Linked DNA regions of Homo sapiens: all the other regions are linked to region 5. The links are contacts of gene promoters, found by promoter capture Hi-C in blood cells and fetal thymus (Javierre and others, 2016). All regions are on one chromosome and are shown on one strand. Each heading gives the region's core, a stretch centred on a gene start or on the middle of the fragment in contact. The rest is flanking DNA. Distances are from core to core; before and after follow the strand shown. Region 1 overlaps MYO18A (myosin XVIIIA). Region 2 overlaps MYO18A (myosin XVIIIA). Region 3 overlaps MYO18A (myosin XVIIIA). Region 4 has its middle 1.6 kb from the start of PIPOX. Region 5 holds the start of RPL23A (ribosomal protein L23a). Region 6 holds the start of SEZ6 (seizure related 6 homolog).

Region 1 (2,700 bases), core at 195-2,694, 410 kb before region 5:
GTTAGCACCAGTGTGTGGGGGAAGGGTGGGCACACCAGCTAGAGTATACCAGTCCACTCCAGGGAAGATTGGAGCTGAGGCTGCTTGAGGGCTATACACACTCTGGGAACTAGGGGGTCTCCAAACCCTTGAGAGGTTTGCAGGAGGAAAACTGCAAGGAGACTGGCAGAAAGCAGGCTGAAGTGGAAGCTTCCTGGCCCGTGCTGGGCTCCTCAGTGCTTGAGAACATAGATGAAGGGCAGACAGTGGCCGCAGACGAGGGACGCTGTGAGGAGGAGGCCTGGCATGTCTTGGGGCCAGGAAGAGCTCCCTGATCATTTTTTCCTTCAGGATGGGTAGGCTCTTGGTCTGACTGCCCGGAAAACAGGTGATGGAAGGACCAAGGACTACAAAGGTCAGGACGCCCTGGAGTTAGGCCTGGGATTGGTGGTAGGAATGGAGGTGGGACTCGGCTGTTTGACCTCTCCATGCTCCATCTCTGCTGTGTCCATGCTCCATCTCTGCTGTGTCTGGGCTGCGAGGCAGTGGGCTCACCTAGAATGGGACTTGGTTGCTGCCCTGACACAAAGCCAGTAACCCCAGAGCACCTCATAGGCCTCTCGGCGCTCTGTGCCGGCATCTCACAGGTCCATGCTAAGTCTGGGGATAGACAGCAGGTGACAGTAGTACCTGATTGTGCTGATTGTGCTTTGTGGGAAAGAAGCCAGACTCTTAGCTGCAGTTGTCCTATTTGTAAGATGGAAAGTGGGCTTCCTGGGGTAGCCTCGTGGAGCCATGTGTTGCTTGGTAGATGAATGGGAGATCTGTTCCAGGGCGTGAGGTCACACCTTCTTATTCCCTCTGCATGGGATGGGCAGGGCTGCAGGGGTGATGCTAATGTCTACCTGTATTTGTATGACTGTAGCTAGAGGGCAGCTCAAAGGAAGGCAGTGGCCCATCTAGGAGTCCTCAGCCTCCCACCAGCCCGATACCCCCAGAGACTTCCCAGAGAGCCAGGAGCCCTGCACCCACACTCGCCATGAACGGCCCGGGAGCTGCCACAGCAGAAGGCCTAAGCGAAGAGGCCCAGGGCCTGTCCCGGAAGCGGGTGGCAAATGCAGTGAGGAAGGTGGTGAGTAAGGTGCTGCCCAGCGAGGAGCTTGGGAATGCCAAGGAGACCCCAGGCAGAGGAGTCAAGTCCCCCGAGCACCCGACTCGAAGCAAGAGGGGAGAAAAGGCAGCTTCTAGTCCCAAGCCGCCACCCCCTCCCCCACCTCCCCCTGCTCCGCCTAAGCCTGAAGTGAAGAAGGAGGCAGCCAAGGATGAGCTCTCCCTGGGCCTGCGGAGCCTGATGTCTCGGGGCAGGGGCAAGGAGCACAAGGCCCGCGGCAAGCAGTCTTCTGGGAAGGGGGAGAAGCCCTCCAGCCAGGAGCCAGGCTCCCCAGACTGGGCAGACTCCCCTGAGAAAGCAGGATCCCCAGCCAAGCCTGAAGCCCCAAAGAAGCAGCGCTCCCCAGCCCCACCGGAAGAGCTGGTGACCCCAGGCTCCACCGGCCCGAAGTCAGACCTCACTGGAGAGCAGCAGTCCAAGTCACCAGTCCCTGGTGTGAAGCAGGAGGTACAAGAGTGTGTCACTAACCGCTCCTGCCCCTCACCACCCTAGCTCAAGGGCCAGGCACCCTCACAGCCGGCTTCCCCAAGCGACCTCAGCGAACCCCGCATGACCGAGAGGCTGGGCCCAGGGTCGTGTGCTGATGGCCGGCAGGGGCTGCATGGCTTTCCCTAACCCAATGCGGACCCTGCAGTTGCCTGGGCTCTGGCCTGGCGGCTGGGATGGAAACTGCTAAGCAGCATGTTGGCCTTGCCATAGGGAGTCAGGGCCTGGTCCCCAGCTACATGGCGCCAGCTTGAGGCCTGAGACCCAAACCCGAGGATCAGAGTCTCAGCAGATCAGTTCCAGGAGGAAAGACTGTTTTCTCAAGTCAGGGATCTGGGCTTGCATTCCCAGCCACTCATCCCCTGGGACCTCAGCAAAGTCCCATCTCAGACTTCCTCTGTTGAGTGGGGATAATACAGGTCCAAAATTTCTTCTCTGATACCCTGGGTGTGGCAGTATTTTGGAAATTAGTAATCTTTGTATTTTAGTGCCATACAGTATACATAATGAGCAACAACGTGTAACAAACATTAATATTTCCAAAGCAAAATCTATGAATATTCACACTACAGGGGCATAGAGGATAAACTGCCAGGTTTTGCCGCCAAAATAGTTAAGAAAAATATTTTGTTTGGGGGGGCTTTTGGGATTTTGGAATTGCAAATAAGGGTTAATAAGGGTTTTAAGTAACCAGAAGATTAGAAATGATACAGATAATGCTCCAAGCCGGTCCCTGGCATGGTGGGTGCTCCATAAATGGTAGCGTTGATAGTGGTGCTAATAACAGTTGTTATTGATGCCCTCACTGCCATCACTGCCTTCTTTAGGCCTGGCCAGCATGACCATCTGGCAGCAGGACTCTTGAGGAGCCCTGTGCTTGGATGGCAGATGGGTACAGTGGGCCCCTTGGGATATAGGGGCAACCCTATCTTCCCAGAAAGTGTTCTCTGGGTGGGGCAGGAGGCTGAGAAGCAGGAGGGAGGGTCAGTCCAGCCTCTTTCCCTTGGAAAGTGTTGCCTTCTTGGCTGGCCTCTGAGTTGGGGACAGTTCTCTTCAAGCTTCCC
Region 2 (2,700 bases), core at 161-2,660, 360 kb before region 5:
ATGGTTTGGAGAGAAAGAGATTTGTAGTCTTAGGCTGAGGAGACAGTCACGAGGAAGGAAGGCCAGCAGTGCGGGGTAGCACCAGGCCATGGAGAAGCTCCCAGGGCTGCCCTAGGTGGACCCTAGATCTGCCCCCTTCCCACCTTAGGGCTGGGGCCCATCCTGCAGGCAGGTCTGGGGCAGCGCAGGGACCCTGCTGCTTTGGGGCAGGGGAGAGGTGCCAGGGGCAGCCCGCATCAGATTTTGAGGACAGTGCCATCACGCATCCCACTACCTGGTCTCAACCAGCCAGAGCTGGCTCTTGCTGAGGGAAGAGAGGTCTTCAGCTAAGGGGTCCACCTTGGGTTGCCGATTGATTTCATCTGTTTCCTCTGGACCCCTTGCCCACCATTTTCCTTCTATTTCCAGTTTGCAGGACATGGTGACAAAGTATCAGAAAAGAAAGAATAAACTGTGAGGACTGGAGCGCATGTGCTCTCTGCCTGTCCTCGCGGGTGTCTAACCACCCCTAACACTGGCTCCCACCCTGGGGCCGCTGCACGCAGCATGTGGATACAGCCTCCCCACACTCCCGCCTCACTGGTCTCTAACGCTAACATGCTGACTCTATCCTCGGGGGAGGCAGGGAGCGGGCAATGAGGTGTGCTCCCCAGAAGGCTGGGGCTGGCCCGTGCACCCTTGGTGGGCAGGATGGGGGGGCTCCTGCCGAAAGGAAAGCGCAGCCTATTTGAGAAGTTTACCTTCCTGAGCTCCAGCACATTCCTCCCTCAAAAACCAAGTGTGGCCACCTCCCTGGCCTATTTCTCTGGGGGGAAAAGTCTGTTTGGGCTGGATCTGTCCACATCCTTGGGCTCCTTGGGAGCCTGAGCTGCCTGAAAGAAGCGGGCGTGTTTCATCTTTAAAGGTCCACTACCTTCTCTTGGCAGACAAGGGTAGAAGGTGAGGGGCATCTCCCAGTTTCTTGTTTGGAGAAAGCATTCAGGCAGCTAATCATGGGCTGCTTGCCGTGGCGGGGGAAGGGAACACAGCCAGATGTGTTTACTTTACTCCCTGCGGTACCGTGGGCAGAGGGAGGCCCCAGCGGGCGCTTGTGCTGGTACTGTCAGGTGGCAGGAAGCCCAGGAAATCCAGCCCTCTCTTTTCCCGCTTTCTGGGTGGGAGCTGGACAGCGGATGCAGATGCGCAGGCCTTCAGGCAGAGCGGGCTGATCCTCCATCAAGTTCGACAGGGTTGTTTTTTAGAGGTCTTTTTTTTTTAGCATGGCATTGGGTTTCTTCCCCCACTCTCTCTCGCCTGATGGACCCCCTCCCCTGGCCAGGATGGGCTGGTGGCAGCGCACAGGACTCAGTGAGAGCTAATGATAAATGTAATAGTGTGTAACAGTGATAGAGGGCCGCTGGAGCCTGGTTGTCACACACAATTAATATCCCCCGCCGTTCTGTCTCCGTTTGTTTGTTCCCCCGTGATTCGGCTCCCCGTTAACTAATAGCACATGAGCCCGGACATAAATTGTATTTGACGTGAGGTTTAATTCCAACCATTTAAAATTTCAACTGCCCTCTGAGCCTGCCTGCCCCTGGAGTTTGTTTACGGGCCTGATTATTTAAGGAAAAGAACATCTTCTAGATGCTTGCAACTAAAGGGAAGGCGAGGGCAGGCAGGCCAGCTTTGCAACCCATCCACTGTTCTGTATGTAAGGAGGAAAATTCATATTCTGGGCCCACAACTGTCTGTCCCCTGTGTGTTTCAACCCTGCCATCCTTGTGTGGCAAGAGCTTCAAGGGCTGATAAAATGCGCATTTAAGATCATATTCTAAACCACTGCCAGGCATGCACACACACAGGTACACCACGCATGCACACACACTCACACACACTGGTGTGTGCTCACATAGACGCATGGGGACGTGCAGCTCTAACCAGGTTCCGGCTGATGGCAGAGAGGTGGTGTGGCTCCTTCCTCAGCAGCTCTGGGCCCCAGCTCCAAGTTATTGAGCCCAGCGCAGTAAGGCAGGCAGAGAAATAATGTTTCGATTTACTTAGAGATACAGTTGTTATTGCCATAACCTTAATGAAAGCAGTAAACAGCACGGTATTAAGGGAGATTTATATGGAAACGCTTTTAACATGTAGACATAGATTTTGCGATGCATACAGCACCTCCTTTCTAAAGGCAATCAATATGGTTATGAACGGTGGTGATAAATTACAGGCTCTGAAGCTAGAGAGGGAGGTTTTTTGCACAGGTGTATAAATCAGGTGGTATTGGTGTTCCATGGGGCCCATGCACCACAGTAAATCTGCCAGGCTCGGACGGGCACAGGGCTTGCATTAGCAGTTTCGAGGTTGTCTGCTAAACTCCTGTTTACCCGGGGCATCAGCCAGCCTCGTCTTTGTTATAATTCTGTATTTGATGGAAGCCCATAAAACATGCCTCTTTATTCCCCTCTCTATGAGTTGGGCTCTCGCATGGTCCCCAGAACAATCTGCTGGTTTCGTGTGTGTGTGTGTGTGTGTGTGTGTGCGCGCGCGCGCACACATGCCTGTGTGGCTGTTTATTTAAGAACATAATTCAGGAATGGAGCCATTCCTCTTGACACAGAGGAAAGGAAATTTATATCGAGGAGAAACCCTAGCCTATCCATAGCAGGGCAACTTGGTGAGCAGACATTCTGCAGAATTTTAGAAGCAATCTTACTC
Region 3 (2,700 bases), core at 189-2,688, 450 kb before region 5:
AGTCCTCCCGCCTTGGCCTCCCAAAGTGCTGGAATTAGAGGCCTGAGCCGCTGCACCTGGCCAGTTTTACTATTCTCTAGTAAGGACTTTTATATTTATAGACTTGCTATTATAAACAATGCTGCAAGGATTAGCCATGTATATTATGTGAATGTACCTATAGATGTCTTATAATGGAATTGCCCAAAGAATATGTACATAAATATTTTCATATGCCAGGTGCAGTGGTGGTGCCTGTAATCCTAGCTACTCAGGAGGCTGAGGCAGGAGGATTGCTTGGGGCCAGGAGTTTGAGACCAGCCTGGACAGAATAGCAAGAACCTGTCTCTAAAACAATTTTTAAAAAGTTAGCCAGTAATGGTGGCGCACACCTGTAGTCACAGCTACTCAGGAGGCTAAGACAGGAGGATCACTTGAGCCCAGGAGTTCAAGTCTGTAGTGATCTATGATTGAGCCACCAAACTCCAGCCTGGGTGACAAAGCAAGACCTTGTCTCTTAAAAAAATTTTTTTTTTTCACAGATACCACTGACTTGACCTCTGAAAATACATTAGTTGGTGCAAAAGTAATTGAGGTTTTTGCCATTAAAAAGTAACGGCAGGCCGGGTGCGGTGGCTCACGCCTGTAATCCCAGCACTTTGGGAGCCGAGGCGGGCGGATCACGAGGTCAGGAGATCGAGACCATCCTGGGTAACATGGTGAAACCCCGTCTCTACTAAAAATACAAAAAATTAGCCAGGCGCGGTGGCGGGCGCCTGTAGTACCAGCTACTCGGGAGGCTGAGGCAGGAGAATGGCGTGAACCCGGGAGGCGGAGCTTGCAGTGAGCAGAGATCGTGCCACTGCACTCTGGCCTGGTGAAAGAGCAAGACTGCGTCTCAAAAAAAAAAAAAAGGGCCGGGCGCAGTGGCTCAAGCCTGTAATCCCAGCACTTTGGAAGGCCGAGGCAGGCAGATCACCTGAGGTCAGGAGTTCAAGACCAGCCTGACCAACATGGAGAAACCCCGTCTCTACTAAAAATACAAAATTAGCCGGTCATGGTGGCGCATGCCTGTAATTCCAGCTACTCAGGAGGCTGAGGCAGGAGAATTGCTTGAACCCGGGAGGCGGATTGCAGTGAGCTGAAATCGGGCCATTGCACTCCAGCCTGGGCAACAAGAGCGAAACTCCGTCTCAAAAAAAAAAAAAGTAACGGCAAAAACCATAATTACTTTTGCACCAACCTACCAATTTGTGTTTCCACCAAGACTTATGAGACTCCCTGCATCCCATGCCCTAATTGATTGATATTATCAACCTTGATAGTTTTTACTAAACTGCTAATTGAAAATAGTATACCTCAATTTCACATGTCTGTGAATGTTATGGAGGCTGAATACCTGTTCATGTTTGATGGCCATTTGTATTTCTGCCCCTACAAATTGCCTGTCCATAGTATCCTTGGCACTAGCTACGTGGGCCCTCTGGACTCAAGCCAGTGTGATCCAGCTTGGCCTTGTGCTTATCAAGTTACCTTCACTTCTTTGGGCTTTACTTTCCATGTACAAAGGTTTTGACTTATTTTAGTCATACTTGTGTACTCTGTTATCCTCTCTACTGTGTCATTTAGACTGCAAAAACTGTGCCCTGCTACTATTAGGTACCTCTCTGAGGGTAATTAAATATATTTCATTTAATTCCCCCACCTTAGGTGGTAGGTACCATTATTATCTCCATTTTTATAGATGGGGAAATGGAGGCATGGAGGCCTTAAGTGATTTGCCTGAGATTTCATAGCTATTTACTCATATTTTTTTTCATTTTTATTTAATTTTTTTTTTTTTAGACAGAGTCTTGTTCTGTCGCCCAGGCTGGAGTGCAGTGGCATGATCTCGGCTCACTGCAACCTCTGCCTCCCAGGTTTCAGCGATTCTCCTGCCTCAGCCTCCTGAGTAGCTGGGATTACAGGCGCATGCCACCATGCCCAGCTATTTTTAGTAGAGACAAGGTTTCACCGTGTTGACCAGGCTGGTTTCGAACACCTGATCTCAGGTGATCTGCCCTCCTCGGCCTTCCAAAGTGCTAGGATTACAGGCGTGAGCCATTGCGCCCGGCCCTGTTTACTCAGATTTGTTCACAGGTTTGTTACTTGATATCCAAAGCCTGAGCTCTGACACTGGGCTTACTTATCTTTATGTTGCTTGCCTTTAGGAAGTGGCTGATAGATACATATTTTTTCCCAAAATTTTATCACAATGACCTGCAAACATTCAGAAAAGTTAAAGAATTTTGCAACGAATACCCTCCATTTCCTAGATTCTACAATTAACATTTTCCTATCCTTGCTTTTACACATCTGTATCCCTTGATCCATCCATCAGGCTATGGTTTTTTTTTTTTTTCTTTCTTTCTTTTGAGACAGGGTCTTACTCTGTTACCCAGGCTGGAATGCAATGGCATGATCGTGGCTCAATGTAGCCTCGACCTCCCAGGCTCAGGTGATCTTCCCACTTTAGCCTCCCAAGTAGCTCCCACAGGCATGCACCACCACATCCAGATAATTTTTTGTATTTTGAGTAGAGACAGGGCTTTGCCATGTTGCCCAGGCTTGTCTCCGACTCCTGAGCTCAAGCGATCTGCCCGTCTCGGCCTCCCAAAGTGTTGGGATTATAGATGTGAGCCACCTTGCCCAACCTCATCAAGCTGTCTTAAAATTTTACAC
Region 4 (2,700 bases), core at 93-2,592, 320 kb before region 5:
TATGATCTTTGTCTCAGGACTTCGGCCCTGGAATTTCAATGCCTCCTAGACCATACTGGGCACCGGGAATGCTGCCTCCCCCTGCTGGTTTTCCCCTCTTCAGCCTGATTTGCTTTAGAGATTCTAGAGGGCCCCGCTAAGAACTTGGCACGATGCCCAGAATAAGACCCACCTCCCTGGTGGGTGGTGAGGTCAGGGGGTAGAGGCAGGGGCCAATTGGGAGGGCAGTTTTGTAATTATGAAATTATTCCCAGCATGTTTTACTTTCATTTTGAAGAAAGAAGAAATGATCCTGAAAAGACAGAAAGGGCAGAGTGAGAGGAGGAGCCCTCTCCTCAGCCACAGAGAGGGGACCAGGCCAGCCCAGTGCCTGGAGGGGCCCCGTGTTGAGCATCTCTCTGTCCCAGGCAGTATGCTTAGTAAGTACTGATACTGGCATTTGGGTAGGGCTTGATTGTCATACAGTTCGAGGGTACTCTTTGAGAAAAAGAAAAAAGGAGAATTATTAATACAAAATTAGATGCCCGGATGTGGAAGAAACTGTTCAATTAAGGACCCCCATGGTTGAAGTTTCATTTGCTTCATGGTAAATTTGCCTCTGCATGAGTTATCTCATTTACTCCTCATAGCCCTAGGAGTTTCTGCGGGTTTTTGTTTTTGAAGTTTTGGTTTTTGAGAGGATCTCTGGGATCTCACTGTCACGCAGGCTGGAGTGCAGTGGCACGAACTCGGCTCACTGTAGCCTCCACTTCCTGGGCTCAAGGGGTCCTCCTACCTCAGCCGCCCGAGTAGCTGAAACTACAAACGCATGCCACCATGCTCAGCTAATTTTGTTTATTTTTTGTAGAGACGAGGGCTCACTGTGTTGCTCAGGCTGGTCTCGAACTCCTGGACTCATACAATCCTCCCACCTCATCCTCCCAAAAGCTTGGATTACAGGTGTGAGACACTGCACCTGGCTTAGGAGTATTTTTATGCCTACTTTTGGCAGATTAAGGATGGCCCCAAATTCTTTTTCACTCCTTCTATCACAGACTCTGTGACTGCTTGACCCATAAAATATGGCAAAAGTGATACCATGACACTTTCTGGCACAGCCCTAAAGAGACTGGCAGCTTCCTCTTCTTATGTTGGAGCCCTTACTTTTTTTTTTTTTTTGAGAGGGAGTCTCGTTTTGTCATCCAGGCAGGAGAGCAGTGGCACTATCTTGGCTCACTGCAACCTCTGACTCGTGGGTTCAAGCGATTCTTCTGCCTCAGCTTCCCGAGTAGCTGGGCCTACAGGCGAGCGCCACTACACCCAGCTAATTTTTCATATTTTTAGTAGAGACGGGGTTTCACCATATTGGCCAGGCTGGTCTCGAACTCCTGACCTCATGATCCGACCACCTCGGCCTCCCAAAGTGCTGGGGTTACAGGCATGAGCCACCGCACCTGGCCAAGGAGCCCTTACTCTCTGAGCCCTGAGCCACCATGTTAGAAGTGCAGGCACCCTATGGGAGAGTTCACATGGAGAGGACCTGGGACCAGGTGGAGAACTCTATATAAGAATGAAGTTATCTTGGTTTGGGAGGCTGAGTCAGGAAGGATCGCTTGAGGCCAGGAGTTCCAGACAAACCTGTGCAACATAGCAAGACCTTGTCTCAAAGAAAAGTGAAGTCATCTTGGTTCCTCCAGCCCAGCCTAGCACCAGCCAAATAGTACCAAGTGACCCAATTGATGCTGCATAGTGCAGAAGAATCACCCAGTCAAGCTTCATTCCTGATCCACAAAACCATGAAACAGAATAAAATGGTTGTTGTTTTCAGCCACAACATTTTGGGGAGGTTTTTTACACAGCCATAACCAAAATATTACTTAATGGCTGAAGACGTGAAGGCTTAGAGAGATTCTATCTTACCCAAAGCAACACCCCTGGTATACAAAGACACTGAGGCTGGGCACAGTGGCTCACGTCTGTAATCCCAACACTTTGAGAGGCCGAGGCGGGAGAATCACTTGAGGCCAGAAGTTTGAGACCAGTCTGGGCAACATAGCAAGACCGCATCTCTACAAAAAATGTTAAAAATTAGCCAGGGATGGTGGTGCATGCCTGTAGTCTTACTTACTTGGGAGGCTGAGGCAGGAGGGTCACTTGAGCCCAGGAGTTTGAGGCTGCAGTGAGCTATAATCACACCATTGTACTCCAGCCTGGGCAATGGAGCAAGATTCCAGCTCTATGGAAAAAAAAAAAAAAAAAAGAAAGAAAGAAAAGAAAGACACTGAACTGTGAACCTAGGTCTGTCTGCCCCAGAATCCGTTCCTTTAACCACTGTGCTTTACTGAGGATGAGTCAGAACTTGTAATGATGATTCCGATTTCAATATTTTGCTATTTCTCCCACAATGAGTGGGAGAAAATAATGGTCCAGGAAACCCACATGACTACAGGGAGCTGCCCTGCCTCCTTACAGTGGCCTGCCAAGGCCGCCAGCAATGCTTCTCATTCCACAAGTAATCCCCCAGACTGATCTTGGCAACTGGCTGTCCTCTCAGCCTAGCCCTTTTGTTCTTAGGAAAACAGGAGCCCAGAGAGGAGGTGCCATCGGACTGGATTTTTCTTTATCTTTTTTTTTTTTTTCCTGTTACAGGATTTCAGTCTGTCACCCAGGCTGGAGTGCAGTGGTGTGATCATAGCTCACTGCAGTCTCAAATTCCCAGGC
Region 5 (2,700 bases), core at 162-2,661:
AACCTAACAAATTTTGAGAGACTCAGGGTTTTTTTTTTTTTGAGACAGAGTTTCACTCTTATTGCCCAGGCTGGAATGCAATGGTACGATCTCCGCTCACCGCAACCTCCACCTCCCGGGTTCAAGCGATTCTCCTGCCTCAGCCTCCCGCGAGTAGCTGGGATTACAGACATGCGCCACCATGCCCGGCGAATTTTCTATTTTTAATAGACGCGGGGTTTCTCCATGTCACTCAGGCTGGTCTCGAACCCCTGACCTCAAGTGATCCGCCCCCCCTCGGCCTCCCAAAGTGCTGGGATTACAGACGTGAGCCACCGCGCCCGGCCTCTGGGCTGATCCTGCCAGTTTTGTAAATGCAGCAGAAACAATCTCCTCATACTTCCAATTAGAGAAGCACACTGGACACAATTTGCGTTTGAGAAACCATCACGCAGAGTGAGTGAATTTCCAAATTACCAATGGAGAATACCCAAATCTTTTCATGGGTACAGGGGGCAGTACTGACTTGTTTCTCCTGGGAGCGCTCTTCCGAGGATATTTGGGCTGTCTCCGGAGTCGCAGTGTCTTCGGCCGCCGGAAGGTGGGTGACGTGCGGATCTTCTTCTTTTTGTGGCTGTGGACACCTTTCAACACTGCCTTCTTGGCCTTTAAAGCCTTCGCTTTGGCTTCAGCTTTAGGAGGGGCAGGAGCTGGGAGAAAAGGAAAGAAAACGTGGGTGCGGGATTTAGAAATCGGTCACTTCCGGCCCCAAGAACTGCAGTGGGCCACCCTGGCCACAGGTGCATCAGTGGTTCCTTTGAAGACATCACAAGTGTCAGGAGATTAAAACTTTTCCATCATATGCACGATACCAGAGGCGAAAGCGACCAACTCTAAGTAACTCCAGGGATACGACTATGAAACAAAGTAGCACTGAATGAACGCTTGATACTTTCCAGAAAATGTCCTACGAATTTTACACATACCCCATCGCAAAACCACGCTGCGGAGAGAGGGGCGGGTAATGTAGCCCGGTTGAACATGAACCAGAAGGAAAATGGTTAAAGCTGAGGGCACTAATTCCTTACAGGCCCGGGGACATGGAGCTCCAACCAGTGGATGCATGTAGCTTCCCAGAACCGAATGTCTGGCCCTCCCTGGCGGATGATGCCTGCCGCGTTGCCCCCCCCCAACTCCCTCTACCGGAACTCAGCCCACGAGGCTGGGCCCACGCGGCCCACGTATACTGCAGCGTGTCCGAAACGCAGGGAGCAGCCCCGGAGCAGAGCCCTCAGGGCTTAGCCCAGCAGCCGTGTTCCCAATTCGTTCGCTCTGCGGCGCGGCAATCCCCGGTAAACCAGCTGCGGCCCCATCACCAACACACACCTTCCTTCTTCGCTTTCGGCGCCATCTTGTGAAAAGGGTCTCCAATGCTCGTTCCCACGGGCTTATAGCGCCAAAGAGCACTAAAGACTCGCGATGCTTTGTACTTAGAGCTGATTGGGTAATTTGCAGAGCGGCGCCCTCTGGGAACGGTAGTTAGGTTTAATTTCTTTTTCGTGCGTGAACAAACATGCGCCACTCCTCCCCTCAAAGGCACTAAAGCTTCATGGGGGTTGTAGTTTTTTGTTTTTTGTTTTTTGTTTTTTTTTTGAGCGCTCTGTCGCCCAGGCTGGAGTGCAGTGGCGCGATCTCGGCTCACTGTAAGCTCCGCCTCCCGGGTTTACGCCATTCTCCTGCCTCAGCCACCAGAGTAGCTGGGACTACAGGCGCGTGCCACCATGGGGATTGTAGTTTTTTGAAGACACGCGTTTATTTGCTCAGGCCAGCGGACGGCGTAGCCGGCTGGCGCTCGGGTCTGGTCCCGGGAGCTTCCTATCTTGAGCAACTGCCAGTCTCAGGGAAGAGGATTGCCATGCCAGGAGGCAGGAACGCTGCCAAGAGGAAAGAACACATTTGGATTGACTCGGGAGTTAGATACAGCTAAGTTCTAGAGTGCTGGAGCAGGATTTGCTCGGTCGAACTGAGGTCCAGAGAGGAATGTGGTTTATCAATAACACAGTGATTTGGTGGCAGAAAAAAATCAAGTCAGGGCCGGGCGCGGTGACTCACGCCTGTAATCCCAGCACTTTGTGAGGCCGAGGTGGACGAATTGCTTCGAGCCCAGGAGTTCGAGACCACCCTGGGCAACACGGCGAAACCCTGTCTCTACAAAAGAATACAAAAATTAGCCGGGCGTGGTGGTGCGTGCCTGTAGTCCCAGTTCCTTGGGAGGCTGAGGTGGGAGGATCGCTTCAGCCCTGGAGGTCGAGGCTGCAATGAGCCATTCCAGCCTGGGTGGCAGAGTGAGACCCTGTCTCAAAATAAATAAATAAATAAATAAATAAATAATCGAGTCACGAGGGGGAAGTGTCAGAGGAAGTACAAGGCGGCCACACCTGCCCCTCTTTACCTGCGACACTGATACTGTCAAGTTTTACTGCGTTTCCTGATAATGCATTTGAAGTTCTATGAAAATTCCACACATTTCTCCAAGATTCGCTAGTTTTTCCGGTTAGTAACTTCACTCACAATCCCCTGCCCTAAACTAGTCTTCCCTTCCGTGTCCTGGTCATCTTTACATCCTCAAATTCAGCTCCAGACACAGAGAAAGGTTTCTTAACACTCAGGTTCGCTTCTCCTAAGGTGTGTGCCTAACCCATCCCCACTTGATCCTTTCTT
Region 6 (2,700 bases), core at 174-2,673, 290 kb before region 5:
GGCACCTGACAGAAGCTCTGCTGTTTCCCAGTTTGGCCCAGGCTCTGCCTCAACCTGCCTAGGAACCCACTGCATAAAGGCTATGTTAACTGCCTTTAGGAGGGAGGGACAGCCCCGGTGCATTGTCATGCCCATCATGCAGTACAAGCCCATCTTCTGAGCTCAGGGTACAGTACTGTATTCTGGGACTTGTAGTCTCCATTGGACCCTCTAGGTTAGTTCAGGCCATAGGGAAGGTGATGTGACAAGTTCCAGGATGGCTTCTCTCCCCCTCCTTTATGTGCATAGTGCCCAGCCCATCAAGGAGCCCTGTTGCTAAGAGAGTCAGACAAGCCTGCCACCAACCTCCAAATCCCCATGAATCATCCTGGCAATACAAGATTCATCCCTAGGTCATGACTCACTCCCCTTGCCCAAGCTGCCTAGCCATGAGGGACCAGGAATACTAGAGGAGCCCAGGAATACTTTCAAGGAGGAAAAGAGGAATCTCATGACATTTGCCAGCATTTTCCTAAACTTCCCCCGGTCACACAACCTTCTACCTCTGTGTCTCTTCCCTTCCTCTGTTGGCAACTCTCTTTCTGCCTCCCCTCTTGCACCTTCTTTCCTGGCTTCCTCTCCTCACCCCTGATTCTTGCATCAGCTCCTCCTTCTTCCTGCCATCCTTCTGCTGCTGCCCTCTTTTTCCTCAGCTTCTCAAAACAACTGTCCAGAAATCCCAGCGTCTTCCTAATTCCACACGCCATCTGCCTGCTGCCTGGGACTCTTTACAGCAGTCATCACAGCTCCCCAGAGCCCACAAGAAGAGGGTCTGGAGAGAATCCAACCAGCAGAGTTGGGAGACTCTGGTCAAGAGGACCAAAACACTCTCTAAGGAACTTGAGCAGAAATTTCACCACCTGCTTCCAGGATGAGGGTCAGGAAGGACACTGGACAATGACTGGAGTCTGGAAGCTTTGGAGAGCAACCAAGTTCATGTAAAAAGAAACTAAACAAAAAACTGCCCTTCTCCCAGGGGCAATAGGGAGTTCAGCCCTCCTATTCCTCTACAGGGAATAATAACATCAGCCATAGGATCCTGTCCCATTGTACCCATTAAAGCTCTTCAAGTGAGCCCATCCATGAGCCCCTGCCTTTAAAGAGCAGCCTCAGGATGGCACAGCTGTGACTGCCCCCTTGCTGTCCTGTGACTCACTGGGGCTCCTCAGCCCAAGCAGGGCCCTGGAAAGTTATTTTTCCATGCCTTTAATAGTACAGGCTACACCCCTGGGCCTCCTTCAAGTCTCTATCTAAAACAGCCGTAGGGCACAGTGGCTCATGCCTGTAATCCCAGCACTTTGGGAGGCCAAGGCGGGAGGATCTCTTGAGGCCAGGATTTCAAGACCAGTTTGGGCAACATAATGAGACCTTATCTCTGCAAAAAATTTAAAAATTAGCCAGGCTTGGGGGTGCATGCCTGTAGTTCTAGCTACTTGAGAGGCTGAAGTGGGAGGATCTCTTGAGCCCAGGAGTTTGGGTGAGCTATTAATATAATTGTGCCACTGCATTTCCAGCCTAAGCAACAGAGACCCTGTCTCTAAAAACAATAATAAAATAAAATAAAATAACAGCTCTAGGAAACCCTCTCTCATGCCTATGCCATTTTCTCCACCAATTCCAGAAACCTGGGCAGAGATGGCATGAAGGGTCTGTATCGACTGTCACTGTGGCTTCTCTGGTCCTGCAGAGGGGCCAAGGCAGAGTCCTGGAGACCCAGGGCTACGTGGGGACCCAGGATACTACCTTCAGCTGCCCACAGCTTGGCCCAGGTTGCCTCCTGCCAAGTGAAGAATGTCTCCCCAGGATGCGAGTGCCACTGGCTTTTAACTATAATATCAGGATAATTAAGCTTTTCTGTGAGCACAGTTTGCTGCTGATGCAGCTGCCTGGAGCCCTGGCATTTATTGAGCGCAAAGTAATAATTTATTATCCTTTGTACGCTCAAAAGCCATCTTCATTATCGTCCCAAGACGGAACTGCCACAAGGGCACGCGGGCCTCACCAGCTGCCTCACTCTCGGATGTCTTCCCAGGTCACCCTTGACGCCCTCAGGTACCAGGATTGGGTGGAGAGGGGTGGGGAAAGTGTTGCTCTTTCTCATGGAGAATCAGAAGGCTACAGTGAGCTATTAATTGAGGTTCCTTAGCAGGCCGTTAACGGGAAAGAGGGTGGCATGCTTGGCTGGGGGTGGGCAGCGCAGAAGGGCAGGGGCCGTGTGCCCACATGAGTAGGGCAGTCGCGGTGGAGCGGGAGCCTGGGCTCCTGCCCCTGGGTCTCTGCGCCTTTGCATGAGACTTTACGGTAAGCCGCTCCTCCCGCGCCCCCGCCCCCAGCCCCGCTCGGCGATCCCCGGCGCCGTCGCCAGGCGCTGGCCGTGGTGCTGATTCTGTCAGGCGCTGGCGGCGGCAGCGGCGGTGACGGCTGCGGCCCCGCTCCCTCTACCCGGCCGGACCCGGCTCTGCCCCCGCGCCCAAGCCCCACCAAGCCCCCCGCCCTCCCGCCGCGGTCCCAGCCCAGGGCGCGGCCGCAACCAGCACCATGCGCCCGGTAGCCCTGCTGCTCCTGCCCTCGCTGCTGGCGCTCCTGGCTCACGGTAAGGGACCCCGGCATCCGGCGGCAGGACGGGGGCGGGAGCGGGGCCCCAGGGGTGGGAAGGGAGAC

The links. The method cuts DNA at HindIII sites, captures the fragments that hold promoters and counts their contacts. A CHiCAGO score of 5 or more calls a contact.
Region 1: a fragment that was not itself captured here is called in contact with the fragment with the promoter of RPL23A in region 5 in 6 of 17 cell types (M0 macrophages, naive CD8 T cells, naive CD4 T cells and 3 more); the score reaches 8.6 in M0 macrophages.
Region 2: a fragment that was not itself captured here is called in contact with the fragment with the promoter of RPL23A in region 5 in 1 of 17 cell types (endothelial precursors); the score reaches 6.0 in endothelial precursors.
Region 3: a contact is called between a fragment that was not itself captured here and the fragment with the promoter of RPL23A in region 5, in 1 of 17 cell types (naive CD4 T cells). The highest score is 5.7, in naive CD4 T cells.
Region 4: a fragment that was not itself captured here is called in contact with the fragment with the promoter of RPL23A in region 5 in 2 of 17 cell types (endothelial precursors and M2 macrophages); the score reaches 6.6 in endothelial precursors.
Region 6: a fragment that was not itself captured here is called in contact with the fragment with the promoter of RPL23A in region 5 in 1 of 17 cell types (fetal thymus); the score reaches 5.0 in fetal thymus.

The regions. Positions count from the first base shown.
Region 1 is chr17:29,126,749-29,129,448 of GRCh38, reverse strand. The region is part of intron 2 of MYO18A (myosin XVIIIA); the gene reads left to right. Among named protein-coding and RNA genes, the nearest start is that of MYO18A, 52 kb to the left of the region's middle. RefSeq lists an enhancer at 1,437-1,972. The HindIII fragment of the contact is 2,505 bases long and covers 192-2,696 here.
Region 2 is chr17:29,083,357-29,086,056 of GRCh38, reverse strand. It overlaps MYO18A (myosin XVIIIA), which reads left to right. Exons shown (of 42, transcript NM_078471.4): 40 at 409-453. Among named protein-coding and RNA genes, the nearest start is that of PIPOX, 42 kb to the right of the region's middle. The HindIII fragment of the contact is 5,237 bases long and covers 1-2,700 here.
Region 3 is chr17:29,171,586-29,174,285 of GRCh38, reverse strand. The region is part of intron 1 of MYO18A (myosin XVIIIA); the gene reads left to right. Among named protein-coding and RNA genes, the nearest start is that of MYO18A, 7.5 kb to the left of the region's middle. The HindIII fragment of the contact is 5,821 bases long and covers 1-2,700 here.
Region 4 is chr17:29,040,198-29,042,897 of GRCh38, reverse strand. No RefSeq gene overlaps it. Among named protein-coding and RNA genes, the nearest start is that of PIPOX, 1.6 kb to the left of the region's middle. RefSeq lists an enhancer at 1-278. The HindIII fragment of the contact is 825 bases long and covers 930-1,754 here.
Region 5 is chr17:28,718,696-28,721,395 of GRCh38, reverse strand. RPL23A (ribosomal protein L23a) reads right to left here and starts at 1,411. Exons shown (of 5, transcript NM_000984.6): 1 at 1,366-1,411; 2 at 506-689. The coding sequence starts at 1,390. It overlaps SNORD42B (small nucleolar RNA, C/D box 42B), which reads right to left and starts at 846; the gene lies at 780-846. RefSeq lists enhancers at 697-856, 1,197-1,416, 1,847-1,896, 1,553-2,154, 2,155-2,700. The HindIII fragment of the contact is 1,784 bases long and covers 1-1,586 here.
Region 6 is chr17:29,005,747-29,008,446 of GRCh38, reverse strand. It overlaps SEZ6 (seizure related 6 homolog), which reads left to right and starts at 2,414. Exons shown (of 17, transcript NM_178860.5): 1 at 2,414-2,632. The coding sequence starts at 2,578. The region is part of intron 2 of LOC105371716 (a long non-coding RNA gene); the gene reads right to left. RefSeq lists a silencer at 2,468-2,651. The HindIII fragment of the contact is 934 bases long and covers 957-1,890 here.